Regions from separate parts of the Homo sapiens genome. Here region 1 is linked to region 2. Evidence: promoter capture Hi-C in human tissues and cell types (Jung and others, 2019). All regions are on one chromosome and are shown on one strand. The core of a region is centred on a gene start or on the middle of the fragment in contact, and the rest is flanking DNA. Distances in the headings are between cores, read along the strand shown. Region 1 overlaps CMTM8 (CKLF like MARVEL transmembrane domain containing 8). Region 2 holds the start of CMTM8 (CKLF like MARVEL transmembrane domain containing 8).

Region 1 (5,108 bases), core at 145-2,644, 120 kb before region 2:
TCGTATCTACTCATTTTCTTATCTATTTACCCTGGACCACATGTTCACCATCCTGCATCCAGCATGGTGCCAGAGCCAGGATGAGAATCCAGTCATTCCTGACAATTCTCCTTTTCAAATATATAAGAACACCTATGTTTTCTAATAGCAATTTTCATTTGCATTCTAACTCCATACACAATGTGCTCCAACATCATAAGAGCTGTGATGTACAAAGGGTTAAGGCCACAGCCCCAGGAGAGGTTTATAGGAAGCACGATCTGCAGAGGTTGGCGCCCTGGCATATTTATTTCCAGTTGACATTGTTCACAGGGAAATAATAAAATGAGAATCTAATGGAGAGAACCTGGCTTTTCTTGATTCAGTCTTCTGAGAATTGGTTTGCAATTCTGCCTGAAAGGAATTTCTGGACCTTCTAATGTGCCCAGTTTCACACCCAGGTGTAAGCCACTTGAAAGGCAATTAGATGATGCTGAGATTATCTGCTGTGTTGAGTTCTCCATGGTATGGCCCCACCTTTTCTGGGCAGAGAGACAGTCTTGGATTGACTAGTAGAGGACTAATGCCATCTACCGAGTGGGCACTGGACAAGACCACCACCCACAGCTTCCTTACCACTGTTGTCCAGGGCACCTGGGGAATCCTGGTGTAGGTCATTGTTATGTAGATAATGAGGAAGAAGACGGTGAGGACCCAGTAAAATACAGCTACAAACATGACCCAGCCAAATGCGGGGACCCGGAAGTACTCAGTTCCAGCAATAAGCGTCCATACCAGCAGCCCCAGAACCTGTAAAGTGGTAGAAGCAGTGGAGAGAGGAGGGGACAGTAGAAGATAAAGAAAAAGAAGGAAGGAGGGACAAAGAAAAAAAAATAATTATACAGAATGTCAATTACAACTTATTTATTTATTTATTTGAGATGGAGTCTCGCTCCCGTCGCCCAGGCTAGAGTGCCATGGAGCAATCTTGGCTCACTGCAACCTCCACCTCCCGGGTTCAAGGGATTCTCCTTCCTTAGCCTCCCAAGTAGCTAGGATTACAGGCGTGCAGCACCATGCCTGGCTAAGTCAATTACAACTTTCATGCATATACCCCACCTTCCCCTGCCATGACTTAAAAATATTACAGGGTTTGCAAACTCATGTGCCTACAAATGCCAGGAAGGTAACCATGGCAGTCCAGGCAGGGACCAACAATATCTTGTTTTAGGGGGTTCTCTTAAAATTCAGCTCTAGCTGATAGTTGTGGGCTGGTTTTGCCAGGTCTTCTCCATCCCAGGAGAACACAGAAACTCAAGCTTGTACATAATAATCTTGATTTTAAATATTAGTACTAATCAGGGGTTTTAAAACACCACTTGGTGAGAAACAACATCCATGGCTGGAATTTGCTCCCAGGCTGGTATTTGTCAAGGAAATGAGACTGCAGGTGTACTTGGAGGTGGTCCCTGGAGCTGATCTGCTTTCAAGGGACGAACCTCTGGGCATTCCCTGCTCTTCTCACAGATGGCCAGTAACATGTGGTCTGAGACAGCTTTCAGAAGAGAGAATGAACAGCGGCCCAGTCCAGATGTGGACACTCAGTATTTTACCACACGTTGTGCATTTACCCTAGCAATAGTCATCCAACTGCTGACAAGTAAGACCATACCCAAAGCCAAAGTAACACTACTCATTGACTAAAGGAAGACTTCATCAAGCAAAAGGAAACTGACCTAAACTGTAGGTGTCTTGAGTCCTGGACAAAGGAAGGCTAGAGCAAGGTATGCACTCACATTCTAGCACCTTCCAGGTGGACTTTATTCCTAAGTCACAAAAAAGTTGAGATGTGAACCACATGCCCAGGACACAGCAACAGGAGTCCAGGGTGGGCTCTAGCCCTGCAAGTCCTGGCTCGCTGTGTGACTCAGGACAAAGAATTTCATTTCTGGTTTAGCTTTCTTTGTGGTATATGAATCAAAATACTAAAGTAACTCTAATCAAGAGGCTCGGAAGACAGATTTCCTTTATTTGTTTAACACGGGAGCACCTACAATATCTGGGCTTCCTGCTATCAGGCCCCAAGGACAGTGGTATACAAATTGTACATATCCTGCTTGTAGAGCACTAAAGTCTAGTGGAGGGAAATACCTGACCGATTACAACTGTGGCAAATGTTATGAAGAAGGTAAACGGTATGATAAGGGTCTATGATGGGGGAAATGACCTTGCTGGCAGGCACAGGAAGCATCGGAGAAGTCCAGGCTGAAGAATAACCAGAAGGCTGAAAGCACTAGCGAGACAGAAGCAGGAAGGCAACATTATAGGCAGAGGACACAGCGTGGGCAAAGGTCTGAAGGTGGGAAGGGCTCTGCTACCTTCTAGAACCTGTAAGAATGTGTAGTAAGTTAGGATATTGGTGCAAAGTGTTAGAGAGCTGGGGAAGGTCAGATGATATGAGCCCAGGAGGCCTAGGGATTTTGTGCTTTATCCGAAGGGCAGTGGGAGAGTTTTAAGCAAGAGAATGTTAAGATTAGGCTAGATTTTTTTATAAAGCCACTCTGGCTGCAGGTAGAGAATGGACATGTGGAGGGGAAAGGGGGAGCAGTGGTGTGGAGACAAATTTAGAGAGCGTGCAATAATCCAAGTGGAAGAATATGAAGTCTTCAAGACCAATATGGTGGCAGTGAATATCGAGAAGTGAGTAAATTCAAGACAAATTTCAGCAGATGGTACTTTAATGGATTAGACATGGGGTTGGGGGAGGAGAAGGGAGCGGATACAATGGAATGATCTCCAGGTATCTAGAAAGATTTCTGGAGTAGATCAGGGTTGGACTTGTTCTGTTGGAACAATGGAAGAGGAACAGGCTAAAGGAGTGTTGTTCATGAGTTGAATTTTCAACCTACTCAGTCTGAGGTAGTTGGGGACCTTCAAATAGGGATTAGAAGAAGTAGATGTTGAAGAGAGACTTCAGGCCCTTCTTTAAGAAGACTTCCTGTGAAGATCTTGAAGCCATCAGACAGGTTTCCAAGGGACATGTTAAACTGCTTCCCGAGAGAAGCCACTTTCCTGGTACAGTTTTGGTGCCTGTGCCAGGGAGCAGCTAAGACTCTAAATGTTGCTGTTTCTGCTCTTTAGAGTTGAGCATCAACATTCTTTTATCTGCTTGATGTTAGTATATGAATTCCAGAGACAAGATGCTTAATGGAGATGTGCTTTTGTGTTTACATCCGTGGCAACAACACTTACTGAAAGTGAAGATACACAAAATGGGATATAATTCCAGAAAGTGCTAAGCCTCACACTAATGAGGTTTTTGGCCCGAATTGACTCTGACAGGTAATCTATACACATGTATTTGACATTCTGTTGGATCAGTAAGACTGGTAATAGATGTAATGCAGCATGGCAGCGTCTGAAACATTTCAGGCTTCTTGACTGAGATAGGGTCAGAACGGCCCTTTGTGGATGATTCACATAGGAAACATAACAGTGAGTGAAGAGGCACTGTAGATGTGTTGATAGTGTCTCTCTGTGTGATCACAAGGGCTTAAGAGTTTCCATCACAAGTCTGTATCCAGCTAAACAGGCTCAACTCACAGTTCTTGGCTCTGAATGCAAAAACGTTTTTCATTATTAACGCGAGTGAAGCCTGCTGTCCAGGTCTGCATTGTCTAGTTTGCTGGCTGTGGTCGTCTTTTACACAAAGGCACAATATTGTTAACTGAGCCGTCTTTCAAAGAACGGGAATACTTGACCCATGACCTCACAAGCAAACAAAGTAAAAAGAATGTCTCTGTCAAGAAAAGAATTGTTCTACCCAAGTGAATTTCCTAGGTAACTGAAATATATCAAGAAGCAAACCTTTTGTCTCCACTATAACCACTACTGATAAAAACCAGTCTTCAAAAATGTTACTCATCTTTTGCTTTGTGTTTAAGATAAACCTGAATCTGTATTTGCTTAGACTACAAAAATACTGTTTGTTTTCCCTGATAAGCATTTTTTTTTTAGGCTAAGACTTTTTTTTTTAATGGCAAAACTAAGACTTATAAAACATTTCAGTGATAAATGCAGGTAAAAAATTAACACAGTGAGCCGGGCATGGTGGCTCACACCTGTAAATCCCAGCACTTTGGGAGGCTGAGGTGGGCGGATCATGAGGTCAAGAGATCAAGACCATCCTGGCCAACATGGTGAAACCCCGTCTCTACTAAAAATACAAAAATTAGCTGGGCGTCGTGGTACCTGCCTGTAGTCCCAGCTACTCGGGAGGCTGAGGCAGGAGAATCGCTTGAACCCAGGAGGCAGAGGCTGCAGTGAGCCGAGATCGTGCCACTGCACTCCAACCTGGGTGACAGAGGGAGACTCCGTCTCAAAAAAAAAAAAAAAAAATTAACACAGAAGTATATTAAGAAATGACAACGCCCTTCCCTATCCGCCAGTTATAAAAATGCAAGAAAAACCAACATAAACAATTTTGTATTTACCCTTTCTGGCCTCTTTCCTTGCATTTATAACCACCGCCTGCACATCTTTCTCTTTCTTCCTTATAAATATGGATCACTCTGTTCACAGAGTCTATAACTTGCTTCTTTCAGTCAGTAATACCATGGAGGACAACCTTCCACACTACTACACATGCATCTCTGCCAATTTTAACAGTTGCTCAGTCTTCCATAATTCATGTAACCAATCCCCTATTGATAGAAATTTAGGTTGTCTTCTTTATGTTTGTACAAAAATGCTCAGAAACATTTTTATAACCTATGCCTTTGTATACCTGAATTCCAGGACAGACTTCTAGGAGGAAAATTTCTAGAATACACATTTTAAGCTTTAGAGGTACTACCAAATTGTTCAGCAAAAGCTTGTACTAATTTACTGACCAGGCACAGCTGCTCACGCCTATAATCCCAGCATTTTGGGCGGCTGAGGCAGGCGGATCACTTGAGGCCAGGAGCTTGAGACAAGCCTGGCTAACATGGTAAAACCCCATCTCCACTAAGAATACAAAAATTAGCTGGGCATGGTGGTGCATGCCTGTAATCCCAGCTACTAGGGAGGCTGAGGCAGGAGAATAGCTTGAACTGGGAAAGTGGAGGTTGCAGTGAGCTGAGATTGCA
Region 2 (4,945 bases), core at 1,287-3,786:
ACTGGGTGGGTGAGGGAACACCAATAAACAGCATTATAAACACGTTGTTTAGAGCTCAAAGAGATGAAGACACTGGGAGAAACTTATATTTCTGCCTGTAGGACCGAATCTTTAAAATATGTGCATAAGGTGGGGCACAGTGGTTCATGCCTACAATCCCAGCACCTTAGGAGGCCAAGGCAGGAGGATTGCTTGAGCCTAGGAGTTTCAGAGCAGCCTGGGCAACACAGAGAGACCCCGTCCCTAGAAAAAAATTAAAAATTATCCAAGTGTGTTGGTGCATGCCTGTGGTCTCAGCTACTTGGGAGGCTGAGATGGGAAGATCGCTTGAGCCCAAGAGGTCAAGGCGGCAGTGAACCATGATGGTGCCACCGCACCTCAGCCTGGGAGACAGAGCAAAACCCTGTCTCAAAACAAAACAAAACAAACAAAAAAGGTGCATAATTAGCTCTGTCAAAAATAAAAACTATAGTAGTAATAAGGGTGATTTTGCTTACATGTTTTCCCATCTTTTTCAAAACGCTTAATGAAATCTAAAAGGATACATGCTAACATGTCAACAGTGATTATTTCTAGTAATGGGATTGTGGGCCACTTACATTTCTTTCACTTTTGTATTTCCTGAAAAAGCGCAGTACACAGAGCATATCGATAATAAATCAGAAAAAAACCCAAAGGCGTTATACTTCATGCCTGGCCCAAATCCACCCCAAGGTAGAAGGCCCATCTCTGTCATTTTAGCTTTTGTTTGCGCTGCTGAAGCAGAGGAGCCTGCCAACTCCTTCATTTGCACAGCAAATATTTGTTGAACTCCTAAAAGCTAGGCCCTGCAAGGCGATTCCAATACCTTCAGCTTTTGAGTCTCCTGAAGTCCTCAATACTCGCTGAGGGAACCAGCTGGGAGAGGAGCTAAGCCAACACTTCTCATACCTTATGTGCATTATGACCACCAGGGGCTTCATAGAGCAGGTCCGGGTGGTATCTGAGACTGGGGGAGCAAGCAAGCTACTTGAGGTACACAAGATTTACTTCAGGTTTCTCAAAGGAACCGCCCAGGTCTTCAGTCACTTCTGCACCATGATGGTGTGCCCATTCTCTAACTCCCACATAGGCTCATTTTCAATTCCCAAATATTTAACAAAAGTCTGTGAGAGATGACAGAGGGGCACTGCTGGGGCAGCTGGAAGCTGTCTCAACTGCTTGCAGTTATGAGCACGGCCCTGCAGAAAGGCAGGCCTGGGTTTGAATCCATGCTTCACCATCCACCGGTGTGATTTACGTCCCCTCTCTAGGCCTTCACAGGGGAGGGTGGTCGTTGGATTACACGAGGGTATGAGGACATCTAAAGGGCTTGACAAGATCCTGGTACACGAAGAAGACTCAAACAGTGACCACCTCTAACTGCTGACAGGACTCCAGTCCTTTCTCAGCTATGAAGGACTGGCTGGGACTTCTGGGAAGATCACGTGAGTTTTCAGCCTCTATGCCCTCCAATGAAGAGAAGAACGCCCATGCCCTGCCTCCTTCCCAGGAATGTTCTGAGCCTAAACCAGGATGTGCACAGCACCATGCAAAAGACCTCTTTGGTCCTAAAATAGGTTATGGCACTCAGATTTTATTCAGTAAAATTTTCCTGACTCACCTCAATGTTACTACCAGGGAGATAATTAGGAAAAGAAAGAAGCCCTTTCCTCTTCCCCTGATCTTAGGAAGCTTTATTTTCAGGGAGGAGGCCATCCACGTGGAGATCAGGTGAGAAAGGCACCAGGTGTCTCTGACACTCAACACAAACTCAATAGCCACTAAGCCAAGCTTCCTGCTCCCAGGATCTGCCGCCGCCACCGAGAGGACCCAACAAGCTGAATTTCTCCCACAGCAAGACATCCTGAGGATCACAACCCTTTCTTCCCAGGACAGCCCGAGTTTCCTGGACCTTGTTTAGAGTCTTTCACTTTGGGAAGAAGGCGAGGCTGAGCAAAAACGGTTCCCTAAAGCCCGCGGGAAGATCTGAGCAGGCTCCATCCCGAGAAGCACGGCGGAAGCACGCGCCGGGGTCCAGCTGAGCCCCCCGCCACCCCCGGCCCGTCGGCACTCACGATCTCGGCCACGATGAGGAAGCCGGGCAGGGTGCGGAGGAACTCCCGGTCGTAGGCGAAGCTGCTGCTGCTGGTGGAGAAGTTCTCTGCGAAGGAGCTGGCGGTGGTGGTGACTGTGTGCGAGCGGGCGCGCTGCGGCTCCTCCATCGTCGAGCCACTGCCGGGCTGGCGCGTCCCCAGGGACCCCGGCGGGTCTGGGGCTGGACGCGCGGCCCTGCGCCCTGGGGACACAGGCGCGGGGGAGGGGAGCGCGGCCCGCGCGGGGCAGGAGGTGCGAGGGGGGCGCCCGCCGGGGGCTGTCCAGGCGCGGCGGGTGTCCCTCTAGTGCGCGGTGCCCCTAGCGCCTCGGTGCGCGGGCTCCCGAGCTGCGCTGGGGCCCTAGAGGAAGAGGAGAGCGAGCGAGGGGAGGCTGCCGGGCAGCCGGGGAAGGCGGTGGAGGCCCGGAGGAGGGGAGGGGGCGGGGAGAGGGGCGGGCGGGAGGCGGGCAGGAGAGGGACCGCCCCGCGGAGGCGCCGCGGACGCCCGCCCTCTTCACCTGTTGCCCGACTCCCAGCGGCGGAGAAGGCGCCGCGTCGCACCCAGGGTGGCTGGGTTGGCAGCCTGGCGGGCGGCGCGGAGGAGAGGGCGCAGGGGTCCTTCTGGCCGTCTTCCGCTCCCCCTCCCGGCCTTTACTTCTGTCAGGCCCCGCCTGGCCCAGGCCCGCAGCCTGTTTCCTTCCACCTGGGCGGGTCGGGGGCTGCGGGCATTGGGGCCCCTTAAGGAAACCCAGGCCTCCAGGGACTCCGCCGCTCCAGGACTCGGCGCGGAGGGAATGACTGAGCGACGACCGAGGCAGGGGGTGATGTGGTACCTCGAATGCTGTGGAAATGGCAGGAATGATGACCCGGCCGGACCTTAGACCCGAGATCGATGAGAGGCCGCCAGCACTGCCCGGGAGACGGCCCGCTCTTCTCCCCCTCCTGCTGCGGCCGCCGCCAGAGCCCGGTGTTATTTCCTGCCCCTCCTGTCGGGAACAATTTGAGGAACCAACTTAATCGCTTGGCTTTGAGGGCGCGACGCTTCCAGGCGCTCTCCGCGGCTCTGTCCCGCGGACCGGTGGAGCCTGGGTGACGGCGCCTGGGCCGGAGGAGGGGAGATGTTTGGGGTCCCTGGCCAGGATGAATCAGCGTAACCGTCCCGTCACCCTCGGGGAAAAAAAATGTTTCAAGAAGGCTTGAAGGGTGTGATTTGTGTAATGTTAACTTTAGGACAAATGAGCTGTGCTTTCCTGGCATGGGAAGGGGATGGGGGTCCTCATTTAGTGAGGCAGTTTGTAACAGGGTCAGGGAAGAACTGAGCTCGGCTGCGTGCGTTTATCGGCTGTATGACCCAGAGCGAGTGGCTCTAGTTTTTGGACCTCAGTAATGCCATCTCTAAAATGCAGGCTTTGACAGATGGACCTCTGAACAAAAAGATTATCTTCCGCTTGGTCCCTCCTTCTATTTTGTGAAAGGGTAGCAAGAAACATTTTATCTGGAAGCCACCAAAAGAAAAGGAAATAATCTTTGGCTATAAATCGAGGGTATCTTTGATTCACAGTGAAGGCATTTCTGCTGATCTGTTCCAAGACAGGTTAAAAACGAGATCAGAAGGGACATTTTCTTCACAGTGTCTTATCAAGTGTGCTGAGAAGAAAGCAAAAACGACAATCTAATAAAATAAAACAAGGAATTAGTGTCTTTTAAGTCTAGGGCCTAGCCAGGAAGACCTCCAGGAGTAAAAGTTAAGGCTTCAAAAGCATGGCAAAGATGTAGATTTGGAGAGATTCCATCCATGTGCATTTGGTAAGCACCTTGGGCTGGTGGGTAAATTCTTAAAATTTAAAATATAGCACTTCTCCCTGGAGCAGTAGTTCTCAAAGTGGTCCTTGGACCAACAGCAGGTAAGTTCCCTGGGAACTTATCAAAAATGCAAGGTCTCAAGCCCCACCCCCAGACCCTCTGAATCAGAAACTCTGAGGGTGGAGCCAGGAAGCTGTGTTTGAACAAGCCCTCCAAAAGACACTGATGCATGCTGAAGTTAGCTGCTGCTTTAGAGAAACTGTTAATGAGTTTGGGGAAATAAGAGATACATACATGAAATGGCTGGAGGAGACTCAAGCATTATGCATGACATTTAGTGAACGTAAAAGACGGAGTCTAGACAACTTTATTTCCATAATATTAACAAAGGACAATCCTCTCTTAAAATTCCTGGGGTCAGATGAATTTCTAAATTCAGATTTTGTTTTTCAATTTAGAAAGGTAAAATGTGCATGTACCATATATTACATAATACCTTTGGTAAGGTCTGGGGTGACACTCTAATATACTAATTTTCTGCAAGGGAAATCATGAATGACATAAGTGTATGCTTGGATTATCTACTGCAATGTAATAAATGTTCACAAAATATTAGTGGCTTAAAATCACCATTTTATTTGCTCAGAAATCTGTTGTGTCAGGAATTTGGGAAGGGCTTGGCTGGCAGGTTCTTCTGCTTTGCATGGTGTGATTGGAGTCATTTACTCAGCTGCTTTCAGTTGGTGACTTGGCAGGGCCAGAAAGTCCAAAAAGTCTTCATTCCCATTTGAGCATTTCAGTGCCCTTTCAACTTGGGCTTTCTAACAGTATGATAAGCTCATGGTGGTTGGACTTCTACCTGGCAGCTGGCTACTGGAAGAGACTTTCTAAGAGGGGCAAATGCAGAAGCAGATCTCTTAAGGCCCAGCCCTGAAGGTTACACGGACTCATTTCCACCACATTCTATTGGTCTAAGCCAATGAATGACAAGGCCAGCCAGAGTCACGCAGAGGGGAAACAGATACCACC

The links. The method cuts DNA at HindIII sites, captures the fragments that hold promoters and counts their contacts. A contact is called where the count stands out against the background at its distance.
Region 1: a fragment that was not itself captured here is called in contact with the fragment with the promoter of CMTM8 in region 2 in 4 of the 25 tissues and cell types used here (H1 embryonic stem cells, adrenal gland, bladder and 1 more).

What each region holds. Positions count from the first base shown.
Region 1 is chr3:32,353,054-32,358,161 of GRCh38, reverse strand. It overlaps CMTM8 (CKLF like MARVEL transmembrane domain containing 8), which reads right to left. Exons shown (of 4, transcript NM_178868.5): 2 at 616-789. Among named protein-coding and RNA genes, the nearest start is that of CMTM7, 36 kb to the left of the region's middle. The HindIII fragment of the contact is 9,259 bases long and covers 1-5,108 here.
Region 2 is chr3:32,236,271-32,241,215 of GRCh38, reverse strand. CMTM8 (CKLF like MARVEL transmembrane domain containing 8) reads right to left here and starts at 2,536. Exons shown (of 4, transcript NM_178868.5): 1 at 2,097-2,536. The coding sequence starts at 2,243. RefSeq lists a silencer at 2,523-2,732. The HindIII fragment of the contact is 9,285 bases long and covers 1-4,945 here.